4 separate regions of the Homo sapiens genome follow, and regions 1, 3 and 4 are each linked to region 2. The links are contacts of gene promoters, found by promoter capture Hi-C in blood cells and fetal thymus (Javierre and others, 2016). All regions are on one chromosome and are shown on one strand. Each heading gives the region's core, a stretch centred on a gene start or on the middle of the fragment in contact. The rest is flanking DNA. Distances are from core to core; before and after follow the strand shown. Region 1 has its middle 110 kb from the start of LINC03041. Region 2 holds the start of BNC2 (basonuclin zinc finger protein 2). Region 3 overlaps CNTLN (centlein). Region 4 overlaps LINC03041 (long intergenic non-protein coding RNA 3041).

What was found. Contacts are between HindIII fragments. The CHiCAGO score rates a contact against its expected background, and 5 or more counts as called.
Region 1: a contact is called between a fragment that was not itself captured here and the fragment with the promoter of BNC2 in region 2, in 2 of 17 cell types (endothelial precursors and M0 macrophages). The highest score is 5.9, in endothelial precursors.
Region 3: a contact is called between a fragment that was not itself captured here and the fragment with the promoter of BNC2 in region 2, in 1 of 17 cell types (erythroblasts). The highest score is 6.3, in erythroblasts.
Region 4: a fragment that was not itself captured here is called in contact with the fragment with the promoter of BNC2 in region 2 in 2 of 17 cell types (M2 macrophages and M1 macrophages); the score reaches 7.2 in M2 macrophages.

Annotation. Positions count from the first base shown.
Region 1 is chr9:16,164,239-16,166,938 of GRCh38, forward strand. No RefSeq gene overlaps it. Among named protein-coding and RNA genes, the nearest start is that of LINC03041, 110 kb to the right of the region's middle. The HindIII fragment of the contact is 1,246 bases long and covers 745-1,990 here.
Region 2 is chr9:16,869,273-16,871,972 of GRCh38, forward strand. It overlaps BNC2 (basonuclin zinc finger protein 2), which reads right to left and starts at 1,398. Exons shown (of 7, transcript NM_017637.6): 1 at 1,374-1,398. The coding sequence starts at 1,376. The HindIII fragment of the contact is 8,266 bases long and covers 1-2,700 here.
Region 3 is chr9:17,461,549-17,464,248 of GRCh38, forward strand. CNTLN (centlein) reads left to right here. Exons shown (of 26, transcript NM_017738.4): 20 at 1,368-1,465. Among named protein-coding and RNA genes, the nearest start is that of SH3GL2, 120 kb to the right of the region's middle. The HindIII fragment of the contact is 966 bases long and covers 848-1,813 here.
Region 4 is chr9:16,248,217-16,250,916 of GRCh38, forward strand. The region is part of intron 1 of LINC03041 (long intergenic non-protein coding RNA 3041); the gene reads right to left. Among named protein-coding and RNA genes, the nearest start is that of LINC03041, 27 kb to the right of the region's middle. The HindIII fragment of the contact is 957 bases long and covers 971-1,927 here.

The DNA.
Region 1 (2,700 bases), core at 118-2,617, 710 kb before region 2:
TTTTATGAAGATGTCGTGAGGATTGGGGGAAGACTGGAGAAGAGTTTTGAGACTTTCAATAATCTTCCATTGATTTTTAGCACCTCTTTGTTTCTACCATGACTATGTTATCTCAAAAAGAAGAGAAAGATTCTGGAAGAATGAAGAACGTTGGGAATGCCATCATTAAGGTTTGCTTTTATGGACTTTCCTTATTAATTCACTTTCCCAAGACCTATATTTCCCCATGAGTTGACTGACTGATGGAGACAAGGGATTTTTGTCCTCCTACCCTAGAGGCCTTATTATAGGTTGAATTATGCTCCCCTTACAAATTCATAGGTTGAAGTCCTAACTCCCTATACCTCAAAATGTGACCTTACTTGGAAATCAGATTATCGTGGATGTAATTAGTTAAAATGAGGTATTAGAGTGAACCCCAATTCAATATACTGGCATCCTTATAAAAAAGGAAAATTTGCACCCAGAGACACCCATGGAGTGAAGGTTATGTGAAGAGACATGGAGAAGACAGTCGTCTACAAGCCAAGGAGAAAGGCCTGGAACGCCTCCTTCCCTCAGAGCCCCCAGAAGGAACAATCCTGCCAACACCTTGATTTTGGTTTTCTAGCTTCCAGCATTGTGGGTCAATAAATTTCTGTCATATAAGCCACCCAGTTTGTGGAACTTTGTCATATAAGCCCTAGCAAATTAACATTGTCCTCTACATATGTAACTTCAACAAGTATACACGATAAGATACCAAGCTTGGCCAGGGGACAAGGAACTTATATAAAAATCATTACCTCACCTCTAATTTGTTGTGAAGTTTGGGCTAGGCCCTTTTGATTTGTCTTTACTGATGCTTTTTAGAACTCAAGAGGCAGCTTTCAGATGCATTAGCGACCCTGGTGAAAACTGAGTCATGCCAAACACATACTCCTTAAAGAAAGTTGACTACACCAATTCAGGGGACAAAGAGAGAGACAGAAATTTAGATAATGCTGAGAGTTAGCCCACCACCCTACTCAATAGGTTTATGCCTCAGAATGAGTATGAGCTGAGAGGCAGAAATCTGTGGCTCCAATCTGCTGTTTTCTCCTGGTCTCAGTTCTCATGTGCCTTCATGCAAGAGCATCTTTCTGTGGCAAGAGTGGTTCCTGTCTATAAAGATGCCATCTTAGTCCATTTGTGTTACTATAAAGGAATACCTGAGGCTGAGTAATTTATAAAGAAGATATTTATTTGGCTCTTGGTTTTGCAGGCTGTATAAGAAGCATGGCACCAGCATCTGCTTCTGGTGAGGGCCTCAGGAAATTTCCACTCACGGTAGAAGGCAAAGGGGAGCTGGCATGTGCAGAGATTACATGGCAACAGAGGAAGCAAGAAAGGGGAGGGAGGTGCCAGGCTCTTTTTTTAACAACTGGTTCTCGTGGGAACTAATAGAGTGAGAACTCACTCATTACCACGAGGATGGCACCAAGCCATCCATGAGGGATCTACTTCCATGATCCAAACACCTTCCATTAAGTCCCACTGTCAACATTGGGGATCAAATTTCAACATGAGACTTGGAAGGGTCAAATGAACCAACCTATAGCAAATGTCTATTTTCCATACCTCGAGGTGATTTGGGGTTTAAGATACTTGTGCTGTATGAGATGACTTTACCCCCATCCCCATATAGAAGGCAGCTGCATGTGAAGGTTTTCTTCTTATTGATCCAGCTGGTGTGAGGCACTTCTGGTAAGCACAGTGGCATTGGTGGTGGTGACCTTCATGTAGGCATCATACTCCATGACATGGATTGGAGTGAGCACAACAGGCCACAGAGAGAGAGTTTATGAAATTGCCTCTCCTCTCGTTCAAGTTGAATGTGACAATGGAAGGGTAAGACTGATTGGAAAGAGCAGGAAGATCATCTAAGCCAGTCATGTTTAAACTTTTCTTTTAAAGCATCAGATGGTTTTACTCAAGGCATACCTATGTGAAACCCACTGTAGAAAGGAGAAGCTTTCTCTAGACCAGAGTCATCCCAGGCATATATCTCAGGGGGCCAGGCAGGTAATGCAGCTGAGTGAAGTGGGAGGGATGCAGCTCTGGAGAACTGGGGAGAGCTGGCTGTCCACAGAGGCAGCCGCCAGTGGCTTTAGCCCTGCAGGCATGGGTCCCAGTGTTACCAGATGCACTTCCAAGAGAAGCCAGAAAGCCAGATTGCTATGTGAAATGTCTTGATTTTTAAAAACTTCTGGTCTGTCGAAGACACTGTTAAAAGAGTGGAAAAAAAAAAAAAAAAAACCATAGACTGAGAGAAAATATTTGCAAAACACATACCTCATCAAGTACTTGTATCCAGAACATACCAAAAAACTCAACAATGGAAAAACAACCCGATTTAAAAATGAGCAAAGCTCTAAACAGACACCTCACCAAAGAAGATATACAGATGGCAAATTAGCATATGAAAAGATGTTCAACATCATATATTGTAACTCATGGAAATTGCCAATTAAAACAAGATACTACTACACACCTATGAGACTGGCTAAAGTAAAAAACTGAAAACACTATATGTTGGCAAAAATGTGGAGCAATGGGAACTCTTACTATTGTGGAGCAATGGTAAAAATGCAAAATGATATGCTGTCTTTGGAAGACAGTGTGACAATTTCTTACAAAGCTAAACACAATCTTACCATGTGATTTAGCAATTGTGTTCCT
Region 2 (2,700 bases), core at 148-2,647:
TTTTATGATGTCTTTTGTACGTCAGTTTTACAACAGCTTGACTCTAGGGTAAATGGGAACCATCATAAATCGCACGCTGCTTTCAAAACCACTTTAATTTCTGTCAGCGTTACTGTAACCACAGTCCTGGGCTCTTGCTTTTGTGTGTGTGTGTGTGTGTACGCGCCCCTGCATTTGACAGTCCCATCTCCTACACTCCAGTTGTGACTTTGATCACTGAAACAAGAGATGTCACATTAGGGAGCAGGGAAGAGGAAAAAATGCCAACCCGCTATCTCACCTGTATTCTCATATGTTCCCTCTATATACGGAATACACCATGTCAGATCCCCAAGTGGGGGTAACAATAGCGACGCTGGGAGGAAGCAAACTAAAAAGAAGGGAGTGGTCAAGCCCCATTTCTAACAAATCACTTCCCCGAAAGCGGACAGAGCGGCTCATCACCAGGCGAACTAATTGCACGCTTCCTCGCTGCAAAGAAGTCGCTTCTCGTAGAGGGGCTGTGCTGGAGTCTCGCTTGGCAAAGCCAGCCCATCTCCTCCACCACTTGCACTTGGAACTTTTTTTCAACCTTAAACTCACTTCACAGGAGATTTCACCTAGGGTTTTTCAGCATATATAATTTTTTATTCTGCTCCCTCCCCAGGCCCCAAATCCCACCCTCCAGTCAACGTGCAAGTAAAACAAATCGGCTCCTATAGAATTGCACTTCGAAAAGAGCCGTCTCTGCAAGGTTGATTTTCCTGCCCTGCGTTCTGCACCTTCTCCGTAAAGCCTGCGGGAGCATTTCCTCCCATCTCCATTTACCACGGGAAGATTCCGAATGTGAAGACAAGGGGAGAGGAAGAGTCAACGTGCCGGGCCCGGGCGGCTGCGCCCCAGCGCACCCGGCACCCACGCCCAGCCGCCGGTCCCTCACTCGGCGGCAAGTTGTAAAAGTTCCCGTAGGTCCCAGCCGCCTTCCTCTCTTCCCCGAGCTCCTGCCAGCGCTCCATTCATCCCCCACTCCCCTCCACCTCGTCCCCCCAGCCCGTCCCCAACGCCCTGGAGCCTCCCCTAGCCAGCCGCTCACCTTCGCGCGGAAGCCGCGAGCGGGGCCGACCTTGAGAAGCCCCCTCTCACGTGCACCCTCCCACCTAGAGCTCGCCTCAGAAACTTGGGGCCAAGTTTAGGGGAGGCCACTGGGAGCGCAGCGGGGATCAGGTCGGACCGGGGTTCTGGTCCCCGGCCCGCCCTCCTCAGCGCCCCTTGCCCCTCACGCCGCGGGCCGGAGGGCGGACACGGCCCCCGGGCGGCCCCGGTGGCGCTCGGGCGCGGGGGTCATTTCTGAGGAAGTCTAGAATAAAAGAGGAAGGAGGGTGGAAACTTCTTACCATCTCGGCATGCTGGTTGTCAAGTGCAGCCCCCGCCTCTTGGTCTCCTCTTAGCGGCCGCGCCTGGACCAGCCCCTCGGCCGCCGCTGGCTCCCTCCGTCTCGGCCTTTCTCTCCCTCCCCCTCCGAGTTCCTCCGGGCCTCCGCTCTCGCCGCCTCCGCCTCCCCGCCCGCCCGCGCGCGCCCTCGCCGCGGCCCCTCTGCGCTCAGGTGACTGATTTACACTCGCGCCGGGGTCGCGCTCGCGCCCCGAGTCCCAGCCGGCACGGTTCCCCGGCTCCTCCTCGGGACAAAAAAAAAAAAAAAGGGAACGGCTTGTCCCGGGAGGGGGCTGCCCTGCTCGCGGGAGGCGGGGGACCGGCGGGCGAGGTGACCTCGGCGGCCGTGCAAGCCCCACAAGTTTTTCCTCTCTCTGCAGAATTGTCGTGACTACAATGTTGCTTCCCTTTTGCAAAATAAAAGTCGGTCGTTGTGTTGTTTGTCCTCAGAGGTCCAGGGGCTTGGGGAAGGAGGATGTATGTTTCTCCCTCCCCCCACCGCCCCGTGACTTCTTTGGGGGCTTGTTTGTTGTTTGGGTTGTTCTTGCTCTCTCTTTCTGGGGATGGAAAAAACAACTTTGTGGGGATGGAAAAACAACCCTGGCGCCCCCCCCCCCCCCCGGGGAGCTGCGGGCGTGGAGGTAGAGGTGGCCGCTAGCGCCCAGCTGTCACACACACACAAAAAAAAATTGCGGGGCGGGGGTGGGGAGCGGAGCAAGGAGAGGAGGCTGCGAAACGCCGAGGAAAGGGCGCGAACTTTATTCCGACTGCAGCAAACCGCGGCAGCTCTTTCCTTTTCGGGCACTCGGGCGTCTCTGTCCCCTTTGACCAGTTCCTCCTCCCCAGCCCCGCACGCCCCCTCCTCCCCTGCCCCTTCCCCAGCGTCCCAGCCGCGGCCGACCCGGCTCCCCGCGACCCTCTCAGCCCAGCTCCTCCGCGCGCCGCTGGGGAGAAGGCGAGTGAGGCGGAGGAAAACCCAGCGGACAGAAACCTGGGACGCGAACGTGCTGGGAGAAAAGGCCAAAAGTTGCGCGCAGCTGGGGGAAAAAAGTTTTTCTGGTGGCGGAGCGTTTTGTGCCGGCCCAGACGCCGGCTTGCGGCGAGGGCTTCCTTCCCTTTCCCGTGGTCTGGGCCGCGGGCCTCGGGCTGGAGAGGAAGGAGGCTGTCGCGCCCGCGGGGGAAAGAACAGTCACATCTGTGGGTGACACTCAGCCGACCCAAGTCACCCTGCCCTGGAGACTCAGAAACGCCGACTACAGCCTAAGCGCGCACACGCCTGCAGCTGAACGA
Region 3 (2,700 bases), core at 81-2,580, 590 kb after region 2:
ATACCCATGAGATATTTAAAGTCAGTCTGATGAATTACATTTACCTTGGGTAATTAATAGTTTAATCTTTTCAAATTCAAATTATTTTTAGCATGAGTCAAACATCCAAACCTAGGAATAGTTCTAATAGAAAAAATTTATTGTAGTTTAGAAATATTAGCTAAATAACTACTCCAAATATTTTAAAAGCTATTATATTTTATTATATTTATATTCATTTAATACCTTTAAAACTTAACAAATGGATTAATGTGAGTATGTCAACACTATCTTGAGTGTGGAAAAACTAAATACCAAAAAGACTAAGTGATGTCTTAGATTACACATTTAGTTGGAACTAGAGTCAAAATTGAAAGGTGTTCTAACACTCTAGTTACCACCTCTGGTTCCTAGGCTCTACTGACAACAAATACCACAGAACAAACATGTTTTGCTTTGAAAAACTAATAATTATTTACAAATAATGTAATAAGTAGCATTATTAATAACTTCAAGTAAAGAAGGATTGAGTATTCATGAGGTTTTCTATCAGTTACCATTATTCTCTAACAAACTATCCCGAAACATCGTGGCTTAAAACAACAGTTTATTATTTCTTAAGATTTTGTGGGTTGACTGGGAAGTTCTTTTGCTGGTCTCTTCTGGGCTACCTCATATCCCTGGATTTTTTCAAACCAAAGATTTCCCTAGTTGGAAGATACAAAATAGCCTCACTCATAGATCGGACAATTGGTCTACTACCTGTCAGCTGGAGTACCTTGGTACACTTCCACATGATACATCAACTGTATTCCTAGCAAGGTGATCCTGGAGCAGCATTCCAAGAAGGGAAAGAGAGAAGCCACAAAGCTTTAAGGCCTGGGAACTGAAATTTACACAATTCATTTCTGCTGCATTCTTTTCGACAAAGCAAGTCACAAGCCAGACTACGTTCAGTGGGTTAGGAAATGGATTCCCCTGCTTGATGAGCAGCAAAGCATTTGTGACCATATTTCGTCTAAGATGTTAGTAAATCCAGTATTTGTTTTAAGTGATCTTCTTAAATCATTAAAATTCTTAATTATTCACATATTTACATTATACCAGGACAACTCATATTTCCTGTAAATGTATTTTGGATACATACTCTTTGCAATTCTTAAATGATTGTGTTCCTCTATAGTTTGGCATGTTATATAAAAGTTTTAGTATTATTATTTCTATTACAGCATATAAAATAAAGCATTTAAAATATTAAAATATTCATTTTAATTATTGTTTACCATAATTATTGTAGAGGTATTCTTCTTTAGAATGGCACTTATTTTTATGCTGCCTTAGACCAAGGTTGTAAGGTATATTTAAATTTATTTCTATTTTTAATCTAGAATGCTACTAATGAACTCACTAAACAGTCATCAAATGTGAAGACTTTGAAATTTGAACTCCTAGCAAAAGAAGAACACATAAAGGAAATGCATGAAAAGTATGGTTTTTGTATTTCTATCCATTGTATTTGGTGCCACCTAGTGGCAACCAGCTCTATTAAACGTGCTCCAAGAAACTGCTAATGTTTACGTTTTCCTTCCCTAGTTCATATTTAAACCTACCTAAGATGAAAGTTTAAGGAATACTATGTATAGCATGATTAATGGCAAGCTATTTACTTTTTTAAATTAGATAATGATGAAGTTAAATTTCCGTTATTAAACATATTTAATTTTGAATAAATACAAATTAATGGCTTCGAGACAATGAATGAAAAACTTTACAACGTGGTGGTTATTTGGCCCCCCAAATATATGATTAGTATTTGTATTGGATTTAATGCCTAAGCTTATAAAGCTAAGGTAAAAAAAGGAAAGTTTTGTTTGTGTTTAAAATAACTGGAGGTTATGGAAGTTTGTACTCTTGTGTTTATCAGTACAAAGATTTTAAATGCTCTATCCCACTGAATCAAAATTATTTTCTTTCTGTATCTTTCAAAGCTACACTATTGCTTAGAAATAGTAAGATGTTTAGATAGAATTCCAGTTGTCACTGATACATTTGAGATATATGTATCTCACAAACACACCTGTAGACCTCATTATAAGTGAAGAGCACTTAAAAGTGATATGAATAGATAAAAGCATTAGACAAAAAGCTTGGTTAATTTTTTAACTGATAATATTTTGAAGTTTATTTATCAATTAAGAGTAAGTCTTGCTTATTGTTTAACAGGGCTCTAGATTAACACTCTTTGAATCCTGGCTTCCCTACCTACTAGGCCTATGCCTAAATTTAATAATATTAAATTAGGTTCTTACGAGGAATAAATGAGTTAATACATGTAAAGCACTTATAACAGTGACTGGAACATTGTAAGCCTTCGATACATGTTAGCTATTGTCATTCTTGTTTTAGTAGTAGCAGCAGCAGCAGCAGCAGTAGCAGTGGTTCTCACAGCATCTACCATTTTATACTTAATAGTTCATCAACTTATGCTAAACAGCTGTGTGGATTGAATCTCAAATTATATTAAATTAGAAGATATTATGGCTAATTTAGTTTCATTACAAGAGTTTGCATTTGTTTATTGAAGTATAAGATTTTTTTCTTATCATTTTTATGCTTTTGATTATCTTCATATATCACTTTGATTTTTCACAGCAATGTAAAAATGTAATTTAAATGAAATAGTTCTAAGTTTTCATAAGTGTTATTAATTTTTCTCATTTC
Region 4 (2,700 bases), core at 199-2,698, 620 kb before region 2:
ACATTGGTCCCGATGCCAAAGCAGCCTTCAGATGTCTTGTTGTGTAAGAAAACACAATTCTGTTTAAGTCACCCTTGGGTTTTCTGTTACATGCAGCTAAACATATTCGTAACTGGATTAGAGAGTTAAAAATTTCCTTTTCTTTATATGAGGAATGATCAATAAGATATCAAAAGTGAATACCAAATAGGAAAGAGGAATATAGTAGCAGAGAAACTAGTATCCCTGGGACCCACAATGACATTTGTGGAACAGCTCATTGTGACTGGCTATGGACACAAAGTGGGCCCTTTGCCTGCCTCCCAGTTAATACAGCATAGAACCTTTTAAAATAAATAGTGTTTTTAACAATAAAACCTCAATTAGCCATCTAACTATCCTCTAACTTGAACTCTCAAGTCGTTGGACAAGCTCATGTTATTCATGACCAATATTTGGACTGATGCTTTAAAGTTTTAGAAAGCACTTTTATATGCATCATCTGGCATAATCTCTGCCACTTTTATCAGCTCCTTAAATACAGATAGGCACAGGAGTGCCTGCCTGGCTTTAGAAAGGCAATCCTTGAATCTCCCAGAAAATTAGCTTATTAGTTATCATATGTGAAATATATTCTGGTTTTATTTTTTTAAATACAATTTAGTTGGTTCATAGGAACATTACTTATCAGAGCCACAAAGTGGAGACAACCCAAATGTCTATCAACTAATGAATGGACAAGCAAAATGTTGTATCTATACAATGGGATATCATTTGACCGTAAAAAGGACTGACATTCTGATACATACCAGACCATGGCTGAGCCTTGAAAGGATCTTGCTAAGTGAAAAACAAGCCAGACACAATGACTACGTATTATACGATTCCATTTATGTGCAACGCGGAATAGGCAAACTTGTAGAGACAGAAGGTAGATTAGCGGTTACAAGGAGGGGGAAGGAGGAATGGGGAGTAATGCTAATGGATATCAAGCTTCTTTTGGGGTGATAAAAGTGTTCTAAAATTAGATAATGGTGAGGGTTGTACAATTTTGAACATACTAAAAATTGCTGAATTATACACTTTAAAGGGTGAGTTTTATGGTATGTAAATTATACCTCAATAAAGATGATATCTTTATCATATCTCATGATGGTATAAAGCCATCTTCTTGGGTTTGAATCCCAACTCTGCCGCATACTGGTTGTGTGATTTTGACCAAGTTACCTAACTTCTCTGTGCCTCAGTTTCCTCTTCTGTAGAGTGGCTGTAGTAAGATACCCTATCTCATAGGACTGTTGGGAGGATTAAATTAATTATTTAAAACGTATAAATTACTCAGAATTGTACCTTTCACACAGGGAACACTGTGGAAAAGTGTCTGCTGTTATTATTATTGTTATCATTATTCAAACCTGGGATTTTTATTTGACACAAAGACCATTCTTTGTACCAAGCTGTGAATAAATCTGTTTAGAATTATAGATGACTTTTTGGTGTGGAGTTTGTTGTCCCTTCCTTGTCTATTAGCTACCAAAGTGGGTATCTGTTTTGTGCTTGGTTGCTTGTAGGTACAAAGGTAGTAATTTGGAGCACAAATAAATATACCCCAGGTCTCACCAGCTGGTGATTATACATACACACACACACACACACACACACACACACACAACAAGCTATGATTTTGAACACTGCATGCGCTCCATAAAGGAGCTTGCACGATCCTGCAGTTTGTTGTTAGAGCGTCAGTGGGCACCAGGTGCCTGCATTTCTTTCCTCTCCTGCATCTCCTTCCCGTCCTTCCTCTATGGCTCCCATAGAGCTGCCTAAAGGAGGCCCTGCTGCCCCAGGACAGTGAGCATCCCCAGAGTGCCATTTCCCACCCAGGCTGCCATCTGTTATGTGCCCAGAGGAGATTGTGGATCCTTGCAGGAAAGAGAAGGATAGAAGCTTCTGTGGCTATGGGATCACGTGGGCCCCAAAGCAGCAGATCCATGCCAGAATCTCACCTTCTCAGGAGAACAGCTCTCCTGTGCTCCAACTCTCATTCCTCCAGGCGTGGCTTCAAACCCTCTCTGCCAGACCAGACTCAAAATAGCTGTTCCTGCATTTTACCCAATAGCTCCCTTTTCCTTCTGCCTCTTTCCCAAAGAAAATGTTACCCATGCAATTAAAGTAACAGTCACAAACAGATGCAAATAAGGGGTGAAAAGTGGGCTTGTCTACACTACCAACACCTGGGACCCAGCTTGGCCAGCCAAAGGCTCTATTCCAATGCGGATAGAGAACTACCATCTTGACATTACACGAGAATGAGGTTAGCAGGGCAGTCTTTTAAAGGAGCAGGCACCATTGATCATTGAATAAATAGTTATTGATCACATACTATGGCCTGGCACTAGACTGGTGCTAGGGATATCATTATGAATAAATGCAGAACTGCCTTAATCCTCATTTGCCATGAGGAGAAACAATAGATGAATGTTGAACACACTTTTCTTTTTCCATTGAAACATCAATGATATGCTACCACATTTGGATCAACAAGACACTTTCCCAGCCTGGCCCCTCCAATTCCCTCCTAGGAGAACAGAAAGATAAACATTCTTTTATCTGAAGTTGACATGGTTTTATTTTCATGAACTAGGAGTGGCCTTAATAGACAACAGGCCCTGCTCTCCAGTCACTGCCAGAAAGAAGAGCTACAGACCATTTATTCTG